Regions from separate parts of the Homo sapiens genome. Here regions 2 and 3 are each linked to region 1. The links are contacts of gene promoters, found by promoter capture Hi-C in human tissues and cell types (Jung and others, 2019). All regions are on one chromosome and are shown on one strand. Each heading gives the region's core, a stretch centred on a gene start or on the middle of the fragment in contact. The rest is flanking DNA. Distances are from core to core; before and after follow the strand shown.

The links. The method cuts DNA at HindIII sites, captures the fragments that hold promoters and counts their contacts. A contact is called where the count stands out against the background at its distance.
Region 2: a contact is called between a fragment that was not itself captured here and the fragment with the promoter of PGF in region 1, in 1 of the 25 tissues and cell types used here (bladder).
Region 3: a fragment that was not itself captured here is called in contact with the fragment with the promoter of PGF in region 1 in 1 of the 25 tissues and cell types used here (IMR-90 fibroblasts).

Annotation. Positions count from the first base shown.
Region 1 is chr14:74,954,040-74,957,293 of GRCh38, reverse strand. It overlaps PGF (placental growth factor), which reads left to right and starts at 1,697. Exons shown (of 7, transcript NM_002632.6): 1 at 1,697-2,126. The coding sequence starts at 2,052. RefSeq lists silencers at 1,551-1,650, 1,831-1,900. The HindIII fragment of the contact is 10,779 bases long and covers 1-3,254 here.
Region 2 is chr14:75,530,278-75,533,531 of GRCh38, reverse strand. The region is part of intron 2 of BATF (basic leucine zipper ATF-like transcription factor); the gene reads right to left. Among named protein-coding and RNA genes, the nearest start is that of BATF, 9.4 kb to the right of the region's middle. The HindIII fragment of the contact is 4,289 bases long and covers 1-3,254 here.
Region 3 is chr14:75,493,907-75,497,160 of GRCh38, reverse strand. No RefSeq gene overlaps it. Among named protein-coding and RNA genes, the nearest start is that of BATF, 27 kb to the left of the region's middle. RefSeq lists an enhancer at 1-30. The HindIII fragment of the contact is 3,218 bases long and covers 1-3,163 here.

The DNA.
Region 1 (3,254 bases), core at 448-2,947:
TGTGCCCACATACACAAATCCATACCCAAACTAAAGACACACACAAACACGTGTATGTATACAAAGATGTTATGGGCAACATATACAATACATATATGCACAAACACACACCTACTCACCCTCACACACATGCACAGTGACCCTCCACAATGATTCTGGGCCCAGGAAGCAGTTTGTCTACCCCACGAACCCCAGCTTGTTTGAAGCTCGTCAGGATGTTCCTTGCAGACCCCGCTTAGCCAGCTGGTGACTGGCCCCCGCCTCCTGAACCTCCAGGCTTAGGGCCGGCCAGGCAGGCAGGCTGCATCTCTGGCAGCCCCTCGTGGGTGGGCAGGCAGGCAGGCAGTGGACGCAGAGGTCACTGGGGTGAGAGCTGGGGCTGCCCTGGCCTCCCTGCTCTTGGCTGGAATGTGAGCTGTAGGGGCCACTTCCCAGGCCTCGCTCCTCCCCCACAGCCACCCACCAGCCCCAGGCCCAGCCAACTCGTGACTCCCAGTCCTGCCAGGTTCCTGCAGCCTGGGAGCTGGACACAGAAGGCAGTGAGAGGAGTGGTGGTAAAGAAAGATCCAGAACCAAGGGAGGGCACACACAAACGCAGAGAGAGAGGCACAGTCTTCACCCACAGAGACAGACACACACACGCAGAGACAGGCAGGCGTGCAGACTCACAGTCCCACCGAAAGATACACATTCAGACACTTCCAAACACACCCAGATACACAGCGGACACGAACAGATCACACAAGCATACAGAGATACAGAGAGACCTGACCCCCACACAGAGGCGTATTTGGAGGTACAGTAGTCACACGTACTCAGACCACACAGAGGCTCAGATGCACCGCTCATGGATATTCACAGACCCGCAAATGCCCATGCACACGCGCAGATGCACACAGACCCCCGCGCAGCGTACAGTTCCTCCTCGGCCAGGGACCAGGAGGAGATGCCTGAGTGAGACCACTCTCTACCACAGGGGGCTGCCCCGCAGGGAGGGCCTGGGAAGACTGCTTCCCAAGGAGGCAACAGGCCTGATCCTCCAGCCAGGTGCCCTGAGAGGTTTCCTGTGGGAGGCCCACTGTGTCCGTGCCTGGCTAGGAGGGTGGTAGGTCGGGTTAGAGTTCTGGAGTCACGTAGGCTTGGGTTTTGTCTCTGCCAGTTCCTCGGACACACAGATGCGCGCACACACACAACACACACACACTTTCCAAGAATGCCTATGTCCATTCGACATATGCAGGCAGGGGTGCTCTCGGAGCCTCGGTTTCTTCATCTATATAACCTGGCTAGGAATCCCTTGGCCCCCTAGGGGTGTGGGCATGGCTGCCTTCCCAGGCATCCCGGACGGCCCTTCCTGCAGAGGCGGTTAGATCATGAGCCTTGACGGCTGACGCTGGACTCCTGGATGCCCCCATCCCAGGTGACCGCCCTGAGAGCCGAAGCAGGGCTGTGGGCCCTGTGGGCGGGCGCGGCGCGGCCCGGGGAGCTGCGGGCTGGGCTCGGCGAGGCGTCTGGACCTGCCGAGAGCCCCTCGCACGCACTGCGGGCTCCGGCGCTGCGGGCTGGCCGGGCGCTGCGGGCTGACCGGGCGCTCCGGGAACTCGGCTCGGGAACCTCGTCTGCGGTGGGCGGGGCCGGCCCGGAGCCCCGCCCCGGCTCAGTCCCTGAAACCCAGGCGCGGACCGGCTGCAGTCTCAGAAGGGAGCTGCTGTCTGCGGAGGAAACTGCATCGACGGACGGCCGCCCAGCTACGGGAGGACCTGGAGTGGCACTGGGCGCCCGACGGACCATCCCCGGGACCCGCCTGCCCCTCGGCGCCCCGCCCCGCCGGGCCGCTCCCCGTCGGGTTCCCCAGCCACAGCCTTACCTACGGGCTCCTGACTCCGCAAGGCTTCCAGAAGATGCTCGAACCACCGGCCGGGGCCTCGGGGCAGCAGTGAGGGAGGCGTCCAGCCCCCCACTCAGCTCTTCTCCTCCTGTGCCAGGGGCTCCCCGGGGGATGAGCATGGTGGTTTTCCCTCGGAGCCCCCTGGCTCGGGACGTCTGAGAAGATGCCGGTCATGAGGCTGTTCCCTTGCTTCCTGCAGCTCCTGGCCGGGCTGGCGCTGCCTGCTGTGCCCCCCCAGGTAAGAGCTACCCCCACCTAGCCTGGCTCCCCAGACCTCCCCATCCCAGCACTGGAAGCATGGGACTCTGAAATCACAGACCCACTCCAGGGAGCAGCAACTCCAAGGATGTCCACACACTTCCTAAAGGCCAGGCTGGACTTCTTTCGTTTGGGAAGAGACCTCAGGCTGGCTGTCCCCCAGGTCCTGGGGGCTGTCTTGGTGGGGGCAGGGAAGCCACAGGGAGGGAGGGAGGGAGGGAGGTTTCCTGTCTGGCCCCTGGAGCCCTGGTGGCTTTGCTAAAAGCATCTGTCCACTAATCCCAGGCGGGTCCCTGGCCTTGTGGTCAGGGTCGAGGCCCCATGGCCAACCAGGCGTCCCCAGGACCTCTGACCTGGCCTGGTGGGGGTGGCGGAGGAGCCAGCTGAAGAAGCTGTTGGTGGGGAGGCTGGCCCTGCCCCCACCAGGGCTCAGGACTGAGCCGTGGGCTCCTGGGTGGGCTGGGGACGAGACAAGGGGTCTCGCTGTGCCTTTTCTCCTGGGTGGGTGGCCGGAGGTCCTGAGTGCAGGGCCTGGGGAAGTGAGCAGGGCCCTTTTCCCAGGAGCCGGGTGAGTCTGGCTGGGAGCCAGCTTGGGCAGTGAAATCCTGACAAAGCCAATGAACTGCCTTCCCACTGCGTTGTCCCACTGCCCTGGGAGTCCCCAGCCCCAGCCCAAGAGTAGGAGTGGGCTGGGCAGTCCCTGAGGAGTCCGAGCAGCCCAGCCACCCGCCTGCCTGCTGCAGGGCTGGCCAGAGGTGTAACGTTACCGGCTGCACCAGCTCATGGCGCCACCCGCTCCAGCCCCTCAGCTCCCACCAGCTGATCACCTCCCCCTGGGCTCTGGCACCCAGCCAAGGCGGGCTGTGCAGGGCCCAGCAGGGTTGGCCTGGGGGCTGGGTAGAAGGCAGACCCGCAGGATTGGAAGATCTTTGGGATGCAGCAGGCCAAGGGTCTCCAAAAGCTTCTAGCCTCCCATCCTTTTCCAAATGAGGAAAACTGAGGCCAGAGAGGGGTGGGACCTAACCTACCCAGGGTCCAGTGAGTTTTTAGTGGTACTCAGGCTGCTCTGAGACAGGGCAGAGCATGTGCAGCAAGTGGGAAGGAACCC
Region 2 (3,254 bases), core at 484-2,983, 580 kb before region 1:
AATAGCTCCATCAAGACATCTGCTGAACAGGCAGCTGTCAGTTTGTGACCTAGGACCATCATCCTATGTAGACAGACAGTCATTCTTTTTTTTTTTTTTTTTTTGAGACGGAGTCTCACTCTGTTGCCTTGGCTGGAGTGCAGTGGTGTGATCTCAGCTCACTGCAAGCTCCGCCTCCCAGGTTCATGCCGTTCTCCTGCCTCATCCTCCCGAGTAGCTGGGACTACAGGCGCCCGCCACCACGCCTGGCTAATTTTTTGCATTTTTAGTAGAGACAGGGTTTCACTGTGTTGGCCAGGATGGTCTCAGTCTCCTGACCTCATGATCTGCCCACCTTGGCCTCCCAAACAGTCGTTCTTTACAGCATCAACACCAGCATGGAGCTGGACTCCCAATTTCCAATATGCCTCCCAAACTTAGCCATGCCGACCCGTCATCGGTAAGACAAGCAGTTAGGGGTGGTGGATTTCCTTGATGTGTTTTCCCTCCCCAAATGAAAATAGCCTAATTTTTAAAATTCTGATTTTTAAAATGGCACACATTCATTATAATAAAAAAGAGAGAAAAGTACCAAGAATAAGATGAACTACCCAAACTCAACCACTCATAACTGCTATTAGCATTTTGGAGAATATCCTTCCGGATATCTCTTTATGCATGCGACCATGCCCAAAACCCACAAATTTTACGTGAAAGGGTTATACTCTGCATGCTCTTTGTAATTTGCCTTTTTCACTTAATGCTGTATCACTGACATCTTTCTATGCTGATAAATACAGATCTACATAATCATTTTTAGTACCAGCATAAATTTTTTTATTGTATGAATGTATCATAATATGCTTCATCTTCTGTTGTAAGCCCCCTGTCAAGTTTTATAGCATTGTTAAAGTATTTACTATTCACAGATAATGATGAACTAAGCATCTTTGTAAATTATTTTTTCTTCAAACTCTGTTGTGTCAAAGGTAATTCCTGTGAAAGATGTTAACATTTATTGCTACACAGACTTCTCAAAAAAGATTTCAATTGACATATTGTATCATTTGATATACCAATTGTATCTATCTATATATAGTACCTATCTATATATGTTGATATCATGATATATATGACATATATGATATCAATTGTACAATGGATATACTGTATTGAAAGTAAACATGTCTTTACTTTCTTGATCACGCCTGATGATGGCTGGGGGACAGTGTAGATTTTGGAGGATATTGCTTAAAAGACAAAAAAATTAATTCATGTAGAGATTCAAGGAAAATATAGGTTAGGGAAGATGAATACATCTTCATCAGAGTTTGAAGAAAGAGGCAGTAAAACTTAATGGTTAGGAAAATGGGTTCTGACGTCAGACAGACCTAGTCACAAGCTGTGTCATCTCCATCAAGTTACTTAATGCAAGGAATTATAAAATACAGCTTTTATGCAGATTAAATGAGATGCTGCAGGGAGAGCACTTGAGGCACAGTGGTTAATACATAGTCGTTTGTTCAATTAACATGGTTTTTTCTTAAAAGAAATTCATAGCAATGGAGACAGAAGGGTCGCATCTCTTTCCATAGATGGTTCACTGATTCTACATTGAACTTTTTAAGGGTGGAACTAGCCTGAACATTCCTGACCTGTGACTTATCTGTGCCAACAAACATTATGGCATGGTCTCCCAGAGAGAGCAAAAGAATTCCAGGAGTGAAATAGGACCGTAAGCATCCTTCTCTGCCTCCTCAGAAGGCCAAGAACAATAGTGCTACCCAAACATCTTTTCCTCCATTACTCAATTTTTCTCCAATTGTAAATACCGTATTTCTCACAGTGTTAGCTCAAAGCTTCATTTAATGCATAATTTATACTCATGACTTTTCTGTCATATATGACAAAGCACATCCCTGGAGCCTGTAAACCTCTCTTTTTTCTTATACTGGTGTGAGACTCCTTCAGGAGGCAGCCCCAGGCAAGCACCTGGCCCACTTCCATCTAAGACAGTACCTAAATCTCAAGCTTTCAAACTTGGCTGTTACTCTCACTTGCTTTCAGCTCCATCCACCAGGCCAGATATGACTTGTCAACAGCTCGGCTCAGGGCTAACACTGCTATTTGCCACTGCTCCCGGCAACTCCACTGATTTTAGCCTTTTCATGAATAAAGCTTCTTAATTGACCTCAGCTCTCTTTTCCACTGATCCTGGTCTTTGACTTGAAATCCTTCCAGCTGTACGGCACCAGATAGCCATGACCAACCAACCAAGATGGCTACACAAAGGAAACGGATTTGCCATCTTTTATCATATAGTACTGTGGACCTTAGAGTCACTCAAATCCCAACTTACAGTTGGTTCTCCCAAGGGCTGAGATATTTATGTATGATGTTCAAAAGATAACGTCAAGATTGAATACTCTTCCATGTCGTGATGGAAGATTATTCAATGTTTGATGTCAAAATTAGAAAAGAAATCCTCCTAATGCATGTGTGGTAATGATCAATGCTGAGAATTTTGATATCTATATTATAAAGATAAAAGCATGTGATAAAAAATCCCAAACTGTATAAAAGGTAAAGAATGCCAAGTATCTCCCTCTTGCTTTAGATCTTTAGTCCTACTTTTCAGAAATAAATATCATTAACAATTTTTTATAATCTATTTGAAAAAGTTTGCATTTATACTTATGCATATATGTAACTTTTTCTTTTTATTAAAAACACAGAAGGGGCTGGGTGCTGTTGCTCACACCTGTAATCCCAGCACTTTGGGAGGCCAAGGTGGGCAGGGCAGATCACTTGAGCTCAGGAGTTCGAGACCAGCCTGGGCAACATAGTGAGACCCTGTCTCTAAAAATAAAAAATAAATAAATAAATAAAACATTAAATTAAAAAACTAATGGTAGCAAACTATGGACTATATTTATGCCTTTTTAACTTAAAGTACAGAAGTGATAATCCTTCCAGATTAGCACATTCAGATGTAACTCATTATTTTAACATATCTGCAATATTCCACAGAATGGACAATAATTTATTGAATCCCTTATTGGTGGATTTTTTTAGCTTATGTTCAGTCTTTCCTATAAGAAACAATGCAGCAATGATTATCTTTACATGTACAGAATTGTATGATGTGTGGATTTGTTTGTGAACACACTCCTGGATGTCAAATTGCTGAGTCGCAGGGTATGTGCACCTATAATTTGAATGGACGTGGGCAAATTGCCTTCTACCAGGGTTATGCAGACTCTACTACTAGCTGT
Region 3 (3,254 bases), core at 305-2,804, 540 kb before region 1:
GATGGACACCCCCCAGCTCCTCGAGCCAATATTGCCTCAGTCCAAGCCATCAGAGGAGTCTGAGAAGCCCCTCAAAGTCAAAATTCCAAACTGGGAGAGGGACTCTCATGAGTCTACTTTGAGTCAAGAGTCTACTCCTGGGCCCCTCAGTCACTCATTGGGGGTCTTACAAACATGGCTGCCAGAGCCCACTCTTACAGAGGGCGCTGGACAGCTCCCACAGACAGGGGCTGAGGGGACTGTAGTTGAGAGCACGCTCTCAAAAGTGTCATCTGTAGGAAGTAAAGAAGGAAGCAGAAAAATAGAAGCTGAGTTTCTATTCAGGGCCCGATGCTTTGGCAAATGTCTTAAAAATAAGGAGTTTCACTCCCTGGAGAAGAGGGTTAGGGTTTTGTGTCCACCTCATGCCAGGAACTCTGCAATAGGGCAGAAGGTGGGAGACCTACTTACCTTGAAGGAGCTAACAATCCCTTGGGAATGTCACAAAGGAAACTAAAGTGGCATTAGAAAGCCTGGCCCCTCCTTCGAGCCCACCCACACCCCATCCCTCAAGGCCTAGATCACGTTCCTCCTCCTCCTCCTCTGTGAAGCCTTTTCTCACCACTCCAGCTTTGGTGTTGAGAGGGACATGATGTGGTGTGGCAGAGAGAACCAGGGACTGAGAATCCATCACTAGGGACCTGGTTCTGGCTTTGCCACTAACTAGCTGTGTGACCCTGAAGATGCCGTTGGTCCAGCCTCAGTGGCCTCATCTGTAGGCTGAGGATGCTTGATCTACTCTAGGGAAGCCTTTAGGGAGGCTTAAAACTTTAAGAGTCTATGAAAAATGTTATCTCCAACTCCTTAGAACTTCTTCAGAATGAAAAGTCGGGGCAACATGATTCCTTTCCTAATTTCCAATGGTCTTATCGTGGTTCAAAGTGAAAATGCAACACGGCAGATTGGTTAGGAGCATGGGCTCTCAAAAGGTGACTTATCCATGCTCTGCAGTATCTTCTCATTGGCAGAATGTTCTAGAGTGGACTGTCTGGCTGCTTCCTGTGGTATTATAAGCTTTGCAAAAGCAGAAGACCTCCCACCTCCCGTGGTTTTGCACATTTGGAAGCTTGCCAGCTCTGGACAACCCAAATGACATCTATGTTTTCCTACCTACATTTGGGATCTTGACCGGCATTCTGGAACAAATTCTACCACTCCGGAAAATTTAAGCTTTCAGCTTCTTTTGCTGTTACCCATATGGTTGCCAAACTTGAAATTATGGTGTTGGCTAAATTCCCATCAATAATATCAGGTGACCCCTAGGGTTGTTGTGGGACTGGAAGTCGGCCAATTTCTATTACCTTAATGTATGAAGAGAAATGAACAGAGGTCCTAAGTGTTTTCAAATAGCTTGATAATTTATAGAAGAAGAAAAGAGAAAGAAGAAGAGGTAGAGGAAGAGGAGGAAGAGGGAGGGGAAAAAAGAAAAAGGAGAAGGGGAAAAGGGTGAGGGGAGGAGGTAATGAGGAAGAAAATGGCACTGAAATTTGACACAAAGAAAATAAACTAATTTTGAAACTCTCGGAACTACAACCTCACGCAGTTGGGTCTTTGTATAAGGATGATGTTGCTACTTTCTGTAGACAAAATCTCAAGGTGTCAAATGTCAAATGTCAGCAGTTGGAAGGACCTTGAAACTCAGAAACTCTATGAAAGGATATCCTTTCACATTGAGATTTTAGCTATCTCTTATGTTCATCTACGCAGAGACTTCATTTAAAATTCTGTTAAATGAAATCAACAGTTTTATGATACTTCCCTCCTCCAAAAAGGATGGGGGAAGCTAGAATCAGACGACTGAATTGAATCACAGCTCCACCCCTTGCAAACCATGTGCCTTTAGGCAAATTATTTAATCTTTCCGCATCTTAATTTTCTCACCTGAAAAATGAAGATATTACCAGTATATGTATCATGGAGCTGTTTGGAGGATTCCATGAATTTACAGCTTGGGTGCACTTGGTTAATGGCAGCCTCTGCCATCATTAATATGGCCATATCCTGTGATTCAGAATGTGACTCAGAGGCAAAGAGGTCTCACATCATGTGACAAGTCTTTGGGGCAAATGTCCGGTGACATCGCCAATTTCCTTCCCAAAGCCAAGAATCACTTAGCTCCATGACCGCCATGTTCACAGACTTCATTTCACTGGCCAGAGAATGGAAGCTCAGCAAAACCACACATGCCCCGGTGGCCCATGCTCCAGCTCAGCCTTTTAGCTATGCAGAGATGCACCACTTAATATTCCCCAACACCACCCCTTCTCTGCAGCATGGTAGAGGAAGGGTCCAGCACTTTGATTCACCTGTGCGAACATCTAAAGGTCGCTTCTCCCATGACACACAATGAGAGGACAACTGAGCTGAGATTCCCAGGGACCCTTTGGGCATCATGGGGATGGGAAGATGGGGTGTTGGAATCTCCCCATCTTTCAAGAAAGGTGACATCAGCATGGCCTGCTACCATGCACTCAGGCCAGAAAAGGTCTCAGCTGACCATCCTGGCTAACACGGTGAAACCCCGTCTCTACTAAAAATACAAAAAATTAGCCAGGCATGGTGGCGGGCACCTGTAGTCTCAGCTACTTGGGAGGCTGAAGCAGGAGAATGGCGTGAACCCGGGAGATGGAGCTTGCGGTGAGCCGAGATCACGCTACTGCACTCCAGCCTGGGGGACAGAGTGAGACTTTGTCTCAAAAAAAAAAAAAAAAAAAGAAAGAAAGAAAAGAAAAGAAAAGGTCTCAGCTATAATGAGACCACCTTGCCCCATCCCCACCCCCAAAATGACCACATGGACAGGGGCTGGCTCCCCTAGTTGTGGAATAATAGGGCACATGTACATCTGCTGATGCAAACCTTTAATGGATAATCATATAAGATATTTCACTATAACCAGGCTTCTTTTAAAGTTAGTACAATAGTTCCAACTTTCTTTATCACAATAATATAAAGAGTTGAAAAATTCTAATCATTCATTGAGCACCTATTATATGCCAGGCCCCATGCCAAGTGCTTTACAATCAGAATCTCATTTGAGGCTCACTCCACTGTGTGAGGCGGGTATTATGAGGGTCTCATCTTACAGATGAGGAAACTGAAACTCGCCCAATATCACACCACGTTAGGAAAGAAAAAAAAAGTTAATACCATAAGTGTAGTTGATTTATGATTCAACTATGAAGACTGGGATGGAAGGAAGCCCAGAAAAATGGAAA